Regions from separate parts of the Homo sapiens genome. Here region 1 is linked to region 2. The links are contacts of gene promoters, found by promoter capture Hi-C in human tissues and cell types (Jung and others, 2019). All regions are on one chromosome and are shown on one strand. The core of a region is centred on a gene start or on the middle of the fragment in contact, and the rest is flanking DNA. Distances in the headings are between cores, read along the strand shown.

What was found. The method cuts DNA at HindIII sites, captures the fragments that hold promoters and counts their contacts. A contact is called where the count stands out against the background at its distance.
Region 1: a fragment that was not itself captured here is called in contact with the fragment with the promoter of PCDH7 in region 2 in 2 of the 25 tissues and cell types used here (H1 embryonic stem cells and mesendoderm cells).

What each region holds. Positions count from the first base shown.
Region 1 is chr4:30,584,781-30,589,887 of GRCh38, reverse strand. No RefSeq gene overlaps it. Among named protein-coding and RNA genes, the nearest start is that of PCDH7, 130 kb to the left of the region's middle. The HindIII fragment of the contact is 5,151 bases long and covers 640-5,107 here.
Region 2 is chr4:30,716,749-30,721,683 of GRCh38, reverse strand. PCDH7 (protocadherin 7) reads right to left here and starts at 1,315. Exons shown (of 3, transcript NM_001173523.2): 1 at 1-1,315. The coding sequence starts at 261. It overlaps LOC124900844, which reads left to right and starts at 2,563. Exons shown (of 1, transcript XM_047416545.1): 1 at 2,563-4,935. The coding sequence starts at 3,777. The coding sequence ends at 4,343. RefSeq lists an enhancer at 1-506. The HindIII fragment of the contact is 10,727 bases long and covers 1-4,935 here.

The DNA.
Region 1 (5,107 bases), core at 1,966-4,465, 130 kb after region 2:
GTGTGTATATATATTATTTATTTATTTATTTATTTATTTATTTATTTATTTATTTATTTATTTGAGACAGAGTCTCCCTCTGTCCTCTAGGATGGAGTGCAGTGGCACGATCTCAGCTCACTGCAACCTTCACCTCCCAAGTTCAAGCAGTTCTCCCTGCCTCAGCCTCCTGAGTAGCTGGGATTACAGGCGCCCGCCATCACACCTGGCTAATTTTTATATTTTAGTAGAGATGAGGTTTTGCCATGTTAGTCAGGCTGGTCTCGAACACCTGACCTCAGGTGATCTGCCCTCCTCGGCCTCCCCAAGGGCTGGGAGTACAGGTGTGAGCTGCCGCGCCCAGCTATATTTATATTTTTATAATCTTTACAATTACATTAAAAATGAAATCTATATATTTTGATCAACATTTAGAAACAATGTTTTTAGTACCACATATTGGAAACTTTAAAAAATATTTTTCAAAATGATTTTGATGTAGTTTTTAGTAGGAGTTATGCATTAAGAATGTGACTTTTCCTTTCCTGTAAACTCCAGAATTTATCCTCCAAATTGTCGGGTATATACTGCTTTTTAATAAAGCTCTTGTCATTCTGTAGTGGTGCATTACTAATTAGACAATTATTTCCATACTGGTAAAGCATCACTGGAAGTATTTATTATAGCTCTTGGACTGTTAAAGAGTTACCCAGTTATAAATTGCTAACATTACATTAGGTATCATTTGCCACACAGTTCAAAATTGCTTGTCTTTTCTCAAAGCAAGTGTTGCATAATTACAGTAAGTGACTGCAATTACGAACCCATAACTTTCAAGAATGACATTTATTGACTTAATTGAAGTAAATTAGGAATGTAACTTTTATCTACAAACACAAAGTTAATAAATATTGCCCTTTATAGAAGACCTTAATTGTATAAATTTTGTAATCTGTACATCATGTATTTGTTTCTATATTCTTGTATTCAACAAATATTTTTAGAGTACCTAGTATATGTAAAGAAATGTAGACATGAATATCAATAGGATCAGCAATATAATGTAATGAGATTTAATGAATTCATATTCAATGTGACCTGGGAATTTGGCTGCTTATATGCCATCTTAGCCAGAATTAGTAGAAGCATGGTGACAAAATTGAGAGAGGCAATATTTCCATTCCACGGTGATCCATGTTGGTCAGATAACAGATAGGATTATACTTTTTAAAAAAAATACAGGGCCTCACTCTGTCACCCAGGCTGGAGTGTAGGGGCCTATTCGTGGCTCACTGCAGCCTCCACCTCTTGGGTTCAAGAGATGCCTCCACCTCAGCCTTCCAAGTTGCTGGGACTACTACCCACCTATCTGTATGCCAACATGCCCAGCTAATTTTTGTAGTTTTTGTAGAGACAGGGGTTCACCATGTTGCCCAGGCTAGTCTCAACTCTTGCGCTCCAGCTTTCCTCCTGCTTCGGCCTCCCAAAGTGCTGGGATTACAGGAGTGAGTCACTATGCACTGCAATGCTTCATTTTTAATACCACATTTCAGGAGGACATTGCCAGACAAAATGATATTAGAAGAAAATATTCAGGATAATGGGACTGGAAATCTTCATATAAGGAAGAGTTGAAGAAATTGGGGCTGGTTAGCACTAGCTAAAAATAAAAATAAAAATAGAAGAAGATGGAGGGGTTAAAAGAAAGTGTAATAAGTGCCAAGGCTCTAATTTTCATGATAATTCATACATCGTATAATGTTGCATCAATAATTAATAAAAACTTTTTAAGGAGAAAGAGACTGAAACATAAGAGTTAGAGAAGACATTAAAGACTATAGAGAATATAGGTAACATAATTAATGAATAAATCCAATAGACATAAATTAAAATCATATCCTGAAATAAAGAGCATTTTCTTTGTTAGAGTGAATAGAAATTTTAAAAACTTCAACAGAATAGAAACTTCGAGATTGAAACTAAAAATTACTTGAAATATGAAAAACTAGAGCCTCAGAAATCTGATTATTAAAAACACAAACTGCCCTTAATGACCCTTTTTTTCAAAGAATACAATCAATCCTAAATTGCCATATATTTTATAAGTAATAATGATTAAACCCTTCAAAGCTAAACCTTTGGAAGCTAACTAAAGCAACACTCATAGGGATATTTATAGCTTAAATATTTACATTACTGAATGGAAAATAATTAAGCTAATTGAATTATCTACTTATCTGAAATGGTTAGAAAAATAATCAACCAAGGGGCCAAGATGGCCAAATAGAAGCGGCTCCCAGTGAGACCAATGAAGAAGGCGGGTGATTTCTGCATTTCCAACTAACATTCTCATGGGACTGGCTAGGTGGTGGCTACGACCCACGGAGAGTGAACAGAAGCAAGGTGAGGCATCACTTCACCCGGGAAGTGCTTGGAGCAGGAAGACTTCCCTTCCCCAGGCAAGGGAAACAGTGAGGGATTGTGCAACCTGCCAGGGGTGCTACGCTTTTCCCGTGGATTTCTGCAGTTGGTGGCCTATGCCACCAGGGCCCTGGGTCTTAAGCACAAAACTGGGTGGCTTTTCAGGCAGACACTGAGATGCAGGAGTTTTTACATAATCCAGCAGTGCCCGAAACTCCAGTGAGACAGGAGAACCATGCACTCCTATGGAAAGGGGGCTGAAACCAGGGAGCCAAGTGGTCTGGCTCAGCGGGTTCCACTCCCACGGAGCCCAGCAAGCTAAGAACCTCTGGCTTGAAATCCCCATTGCTAGAACAGCAGTCTGGAGTCCACCTGGGACGGCCGAGTTCCACTGGCGGTAGGAGGGCCGTGGAGACCTCCATTTCTGTGGGTTTAGTAGGTGGTTTTCCCTTGACAATGCTAAGAAGACTGGGAGATTTGGACTGGGTGGAAATCCCCATGGTGCAGCAAAGCAGCTGTGGCCAGACTGCTTCTCTAGATCCCTCCTCACGGGGCAGGGCGACCCTGCAGGAAGTCCACTGGCTCCAGTCAGGGGCTAACAGACAGAACTCTCATTTCCCTGGGACAGAGCACCGTGGTCCCAGGTTCAGCAGACTTAATTTTTCCCGCCTGTCAGCTCTGAAAAGATCAGCTGATCCTGACAAAAGGGATTTCCCCCAGAATAGCACACCAGCTCTGCTAAGGGACAGACTGCCTCCTCAAGAGGGTCCCTGACCCTGTGCCACCTGTCTGGGTGAGACCTCCCAACATGGGTCGGCAGACACCTCATACAGGACAGTTCCGTCTGGCATCAAGTTGGTGCCCTTCTGGGATGAAGCTTCCGGCGGAAGGATCAGACAGCAATCTTTGCTGTTCTGCAACCTCTACTGGTGATACCCAGGTGAACAGGGGCTGCAGTGGACCCCCAGCAAACTGCAGCAGACCTGCAGAAGAGGGGCCGGACTGATAGAGGAAAAACAAACAGGAAGCAACAACAACAACAGCAGCATCAACAAAAAAGACCCCACAAAAACCCCATCCAAAGTCACCAGCCTCAAAGGTAGATAAACTCACAAAGAGGAGGAAAAACGAATGCAAAAACGCTGAAAATACCAAAAACCAGAATGCCTCTTCTCTTCCAAATGGTTGCAACACATCTCCAGCAAGGGAACAGAATGGGGCTAAAGCTGAGATGGATGAACTGACAGAAGTAGGTTTTAGAAAGTGAATTTTAGAAAAATGAATTTCGCTGAGCTAAAGGATTATGTTCTAACTCAATGCAGAGAAGCCAAGAAGCAGGATAAAAGATTACAGGTGCTGTTAACTAGAATAACCAGTCTAGAGAGGAACATAAATGACCTGAGGGAGCTGAAAAACAGAGCATGAGAACTTTGTTATGCAAACACAAGTATCAATAGCCTAATCGACTAAGCAGAAGAGAGAATATCAGAGCTTGAAGACTATCTTGCTGAAATAAAACAGACAGACAAGATTAGAGAAAAAAGAATGAAAAGAAACAAAACCTCTAAGAATTATGGAACTATGTAAAAAGACTGAACCTATGACTGATTGGAGTAGCTGAAAGAGATGGGAGAAAGGAACCAAGTTGGAAAACACACTTCAGGATATCATCCAGGATAACTTCTTCAACTTAGCAAGACAAGCCAATATTCAAATTCAAGAAATCCAGAGAATCCCAATAAGACACTTCATAAAAAGATCTACCCCAAGACACATAAACATCTTATTCTCTAAGGTCGAAATGAGGGAAAAAATGTTAAGGGTAGCAAGAGAGAAAGGCCAGGTCACCTACAAAAGGAAGTCCATCAGACTAACGGCAGACATCTCTGTGGAAACCCTGCAATCTAGGAGATTGGGGGCCAATATTCAACATTCTTAAAGAAAAAGAAATTCCAACCCAGAATTTCATATCCAGCCAAACTAAGCTTCATAAGCAAAGGAGAAATAAAATCTTTTTCAGAGAAGCAAATGCTGAGGAATTTTGTGACCACCAGGCCTGCCTTGCAAGAGCTCCTGAAGGAAGCACTAAACATGGATAGGAAAACCTGTTACCAGCCACTGCAGAAACACAATGAAGTACACAGACCAATGACACTATGAAGCGATTACATTAACAAGTCTGCAAAATTTACCAGCCAGCATCATGATGACAGAATCAAATTCACACACAACAATATTAACCTTAAATGTAAATGGGCTAAATGCCACAATTAAAAGACACAGAATGGCAAGCTGCATACAAAGACAGGAACCATTTGTGTGCTGTACTCAAGAGACACATCTCATGTGCAAAGACGCACATGGACTCAAAATAAAAAGAAGGAGGAAAATTTACCAAGCAATTGGAAAGCAGAAAAAAGCAGAGGTTTCAATCTTAGTTTCTGACAAAATAGACTTTAAATTAGCAAAAGTCAAAAAAGACAGAGAAGGGCATTACATAATGTTGAATGGTTCAGTTTAATAAGAAGAGCTAACTATCCTAAATATATATGCACCCAATACAGTAGCACGCAGATTCATAAAACAAGTTTTTAGAGACCTACAAAGACATTTAGGCCTCCAAACAATAATAGTGGGAGACTTTAATACTCCCACTGTCTAATACTGTCTGTATTAGACAGATCATCAAGACAGAAAATACCACCAG
Region 2 (4,935 bases), core at 66-2,565:
GCTCGTGCTCAGCTCGCCAGTGAGGTTGTCGATCTTCAGGTACTCGGAACCGGACTCCAGGCTGAAAGTCACCTCACCCGATCCGGTCACGATGCCCAGGTCTGAAGCCACGTTGCCGATGCGGACGTCGGCGGGGCCCTCCTCGGCCAGCCGGTACCGGAGGAGCTGCTTGGCGGCCGCCAGGCTGAGCGAGAGCGGCAGGAGGAGGCAGCAGCCCAAGCACCAGCCGCGCGCCCATCCCGCGGTCCGCATCCTCAGCATCTTCTCCTGCTGCTGCTGCTACTGCTCCTTCTAACCACAGCCCCCTCGGCGCCCCCCTCCTCCGGGGCCGGCCGCCTGCCCTCCCCCGAGTCCTCTCCCCTCTCCCGGAAAGGAAGGAGCGAGAGGGAGGGGAGGGAGGGGGCAAAAGCGGCGTGGAGAGTTGGCCGGGAATGGGGGTGGGAGGGCAGCGATAGATGCTTCTTTTTTTCCTCCTGCTTCTTCCGAAAGTTATTGTTTCATAATTCATGCAATGGGTGCTAATCGCCCGCTCGCCTGCCGCCGTTCAGTCGCAGTACTCACAGTTCACGGGACACTGCGCGCCGCGGGTTCGGCGCTCCCCCAACCCAGAGTCATCCCCTCAGCGGGCGGAGAATCCCCGGCTCTAGTCCCCGCTCTGTCGGAAGGGGCCAGAACCGCTCCGGCAGACGGGCAGTGGGGCTGGGAAGAGGTGGGGAATGAGCCTGCAGCCTCCCCCGCCTGCCAGCCCGCTGGTCTTTGCTGCTACTCGAGTTGAGTCCAATTCACGTTCCAGGCACTCACTCCAAACCCAGGCTCTGCTCCGGCTCCGGCCACCCAGACAAACGTGAGTCGCTTCCTGCACCAGGCGCTGGGGCCAGCAACAAGCCAGTCTCAACTCCGACTCTGCTCATGCAGCGGGGGAGCCAGTCAACAGATCGAGAATGAAAAATCCCCCGGCACGTCGCTTCGGGCACGGTGCAGGGGAGACTACTCGCGTCACAGAGCGGTCAGTGTCAGGGTCCCCCCGGCGCGCCAAAGAGAAGCCCGAGCCATCTTCAGAGACGCCCAGAGTCAGTCCCTTCTCACCCCGGAGAGCGCGGGTTTCTCTTTTTTCTTAACAACTCTGCGCAAGGTCATTAGTCACGAAGCAGCCGCCTGAAACCGCAGCAGCCTTTCGCCCACGGGGGCGAAGGCTGAGCAGTGCGCACCGTGCGGTGCCCAAGTTTGGGTTCGCAGCCGCAGAGTCCGTGCCTTTTCTCACCTGCATTCGGCCCGCATGTCGGAGCAGTGGGATCTGCAGCGCTGTGCGCGATTCAGGGAGGAGATTGCAGCCTCTCTCTCCCCGCTCTCTCTCGATCCCTCCCCTCCCTCCCTCCCTTTCTCTCTCCTCCCTCCTCTCTCTCCTCCCTCCTCTCCTTTCCCCTTTCCCCCTCTCCCACTCGCTCTCTTGCACGCTCTCTCTCCTTCCCAATGCAGGGAACTCAAGCTGAACTTGATCCCTTTGCAGTTCAAAGGTGAGCAAACCAGGCTCGGAGCACAGGCGACGTTAGCCGGCGAAAGCGCACGGCCGGGCGTCCCCAACGGCAATTAACAAAGATGCCCAATTCTGTCTGGATTTCCGAAGAAAAGCCAAAGGCTTTCGGGCGGGGGTGGAGGGGGAGGTGGAGTCAGAGACAGCTGCCAAGTAGCTTAAAAAAAAAAATCCAGTTTGCCAAGGGGAGAAAAAGTGTCAGTCGGTTGTGGCCTCGGAAGTGCCCTGGCACGGCTGGTGAATTCCGCAGTTGTCTCGTCCCTTTTCGCGTCTGGGAGAGTCTGGTGCGGGCGCTCCCGCCGCCCCTCGGGCTGCAGCGGCTCGGAGACACTGAACCGCTAGTGGGAATCTCCCGTTCGCTACCCGCGAGCAGGAAACCCGCAAGTTGCCCAAAGTGGTGGTTGCTGCTGGGTGCTCGCTCGCTCACGGATCAGGCTTGTCCCTGACGCTGCTGCTGCAGCGGCGGCGGCAGTAGCAGCCGAGCCGCCGAAACTACACACTAGGAGAGAGCGAGGGAGGAGGGCCCGGGATAAGGAGGCGGGAGGGAGCGTCAGCCAGCCGCCGCGCTCGGGAAAGCCCAGCCTCAGCTCCAGGGGCCGCTCAAAGTGTGCCCAATCCCAGCCAGTCCTCTTTAAGCCAAAGCCCAGTCCCCCTCCCTAGCGAGTACCGCCGTCTTCTCTGGGGGACTTGTTTTCCCTCCCTCGGGCTGGTAAATTTCCTCCTCCCTTGACTAATGCCCAGTTCACGCGTGAGAGCTTTCGGAGCTGGTGTCAGGATAGGTTTCTCCTTCTCCCTCCCTCTCAGACGACGTCCTCCTCCCCCCGGAAAGTGTCTCCGGTTCGCGATTTAGGATCTTGGTTAGGACATGGTTATCGGGGTCCTGGGGAACCTACGAGCGCCCAGAAAGCCACTCTGTTCTGAAAAACCATGACGGGCTGCAGTAGTGAAGAGAGAACATCAAACTCCAGAGAGCTGGAGAAAGATCCTTTTTTGGGAGCTCAGACTTTGGATGGTTGCGGGGGGCAGGGGCGGCGGTGGGTGGAGGGTGAAGGATGTCTGTCTTTGTTTAAATGCTTGACATTCCTGTCGTCGTGCTTGCTTGCGGGGGTAGACCGTGTGTGCGCGCCTGGGGAATAAACACATGTTGGAAACCTCGATATTATTTTCTGAGCAGAAACCTGCAGCCTTTAGTAACTGGCAAAGTGTAGCGTCACCTATCTGGATAAAAGGGAAATAAACTTTAATGGCAACTTTGTGTACCAAAGTGTCCCCAGCTTTCCCATCTCTCCTTTTGACTTTGTGTCCCTTGACTGTCCCTATTTCCTGAAGCAAGGCTTCTCCAATTTTCATTCACGACCACCGCAGCCGGCCTCATCAGATCTCAGGTCTGGTTGTGTTTTTGAACTGAGCCATTTACTCATTTATTTCAGTGGCTGTAAACGAAGAGGCCCGGCTAGGATTAAGACGACTGAGACGGACTGTAGGTATTTGGGGAGAATTTTTACCATCTCGAAAGAGAGAAAGGGCCGCTGCTGGGATTTGCTTAGTCTTCAGCTCGCCTGACGTATCCATACACATTTAAGGGCCTCCCCTCAAAGAAAAATTTAAAGCCGAAAAAATAAAATCTGTCCAGTGTGGGTATTCTTTACGAGACCTGGGTGACGAGGCAGAATGATTTAAACAAGACAAACACCAATAAAGTCAACGAGCAGATGTAGCGCGCGGTTGTTTGGGCGGGCGCAGGAACAGGAATGAGGAGGGAGAGGCGGCAGAGATTTCCAAGCTCTCCCTACAGGGGATCGTAGATGCCCGTTGGATGGAAGTGTGTCTAAGTGTGTGTCAGGGAGCTGGCGAGTATTTTCCAGTCTGTGAAAGTAGCATCACCCCAGGGGTGGTGGCTCCTCCTCCGAGGCCAGGGCAGGGAACCCGGCCTTCCCGCTAACCCTCCCGCTGCTGGCACCCGAACCTCTCAGCTCTGTATCTGCAGCATCAGCGAGAAAAGCCCCGCGCGCAGGCTCAGTGCGCACCGCCGCAGTCTCGAGCCGGGGGCGGGGGTGGGCTCCGCAGCGCCTTCGCGGCCGGCTAAGTGGCAGTAAAGCCAAATCCCTCTTACATTTGGCAAGAACCCGGGTTTATCGGAACGCCTGCCTCTCTCCAAACCTCCGACCCTGGTTCCCCTTTTTCCCAGGTTGGAGGCAAATGGGAGAAGCCGTCTCCACTCCGCGGCCTTGCGCCGTGCATTCCGATGCGCGGCAATATGGTGCAGTGCACTCACTCCCCTCATCGCCTTACTAAGATTTTGCAAACTTCAGGCAGCCGCTTGGGCAGAAACGTTGTGCACTCCCTCTTCCCTCTCCAGACCATAAACTTGAATAAGCCTCTCCGCATCTTCAAAGCATTTGCTCGCGGCTCTGGCGCGCACTCTCCAGGCGCACACTTGAGCGGGGCGCGAAGGAGTGGGCGGCTTTTCCTCAGCGCGCTGCACATTTCTTCCCGGATGACTAGGGAGTTGCAGCGCGTCCTTCACAGTGGAGTGGTTTCCTCTTTGCGAGCGGGAGGAAGTCTCCAGCCCGCCCTCCTCACTCTCATTCCTACCAACTTCGCGGCGGAGCCAAGCCAGCGTGGGAAATGGGTCCGACGTGTGCTGCATGGAGAACAGCGAGGACAGACTGCGGGGGCCAAGAAGCCTGCTGGCTTTGCTCCCACCCCCATCAGTCCCAGGCTCCGACCTTTCTGCCAGAGCAGCAAAGAAGTGGCGGCGGCTTTGCCCTGCAGCGCCGTTCTGGGCAAGCAAAGGAAATGGGCGGGGTAGGGGTACGGGGGAGGTGAGAGGAGCCCTCGGGGCGCCCTTGCGGCGGCTGGAGCTCCCAGTCCTCTTCCGCCCCCTCTCTAGGGGCTGACACTCTCTCCTCTCGCCGGCGCAGAGGATGAATGAAGAGAGAAGCAGTTTCTCCCACCCCCGCCCCATTTCCGCAGTCTTAGAGCCAGTGTCACAAGTGCTCAGCAATTTCATTAAATGGAACCGGGAGACTTAATCCCCCCCGGTACCAGACCTCACCGAGGGAATGTGATATCCGGCTTCGCTCCCACCCACCAACCCCCCCCCCCCCCCCCCCCCGGCTTCTCAGACCCGAGGCTGCATTTATCTACTCAACCTGAGAGGAAAGGGTTCAGAAGGAAATGGGATCGAAAGTGTAACCGCCTGCAATAAATTAAAGAGCCTGCTGCTGCTGCTGCTGCTGCTGCTGCTGCTGCTGCTTTGGCGGCCAGAACTGGAGAGAGAAAATGAGATCAGTGCCCTAAAGCTTGCATCGATCAGAGTGATTAGACGTCATCGCATGTAGGAAGCAAAATGTTTGAGGGAATGTTGAAATGGAGATTTCTGTTTTTTCTTTAGTGGCTTT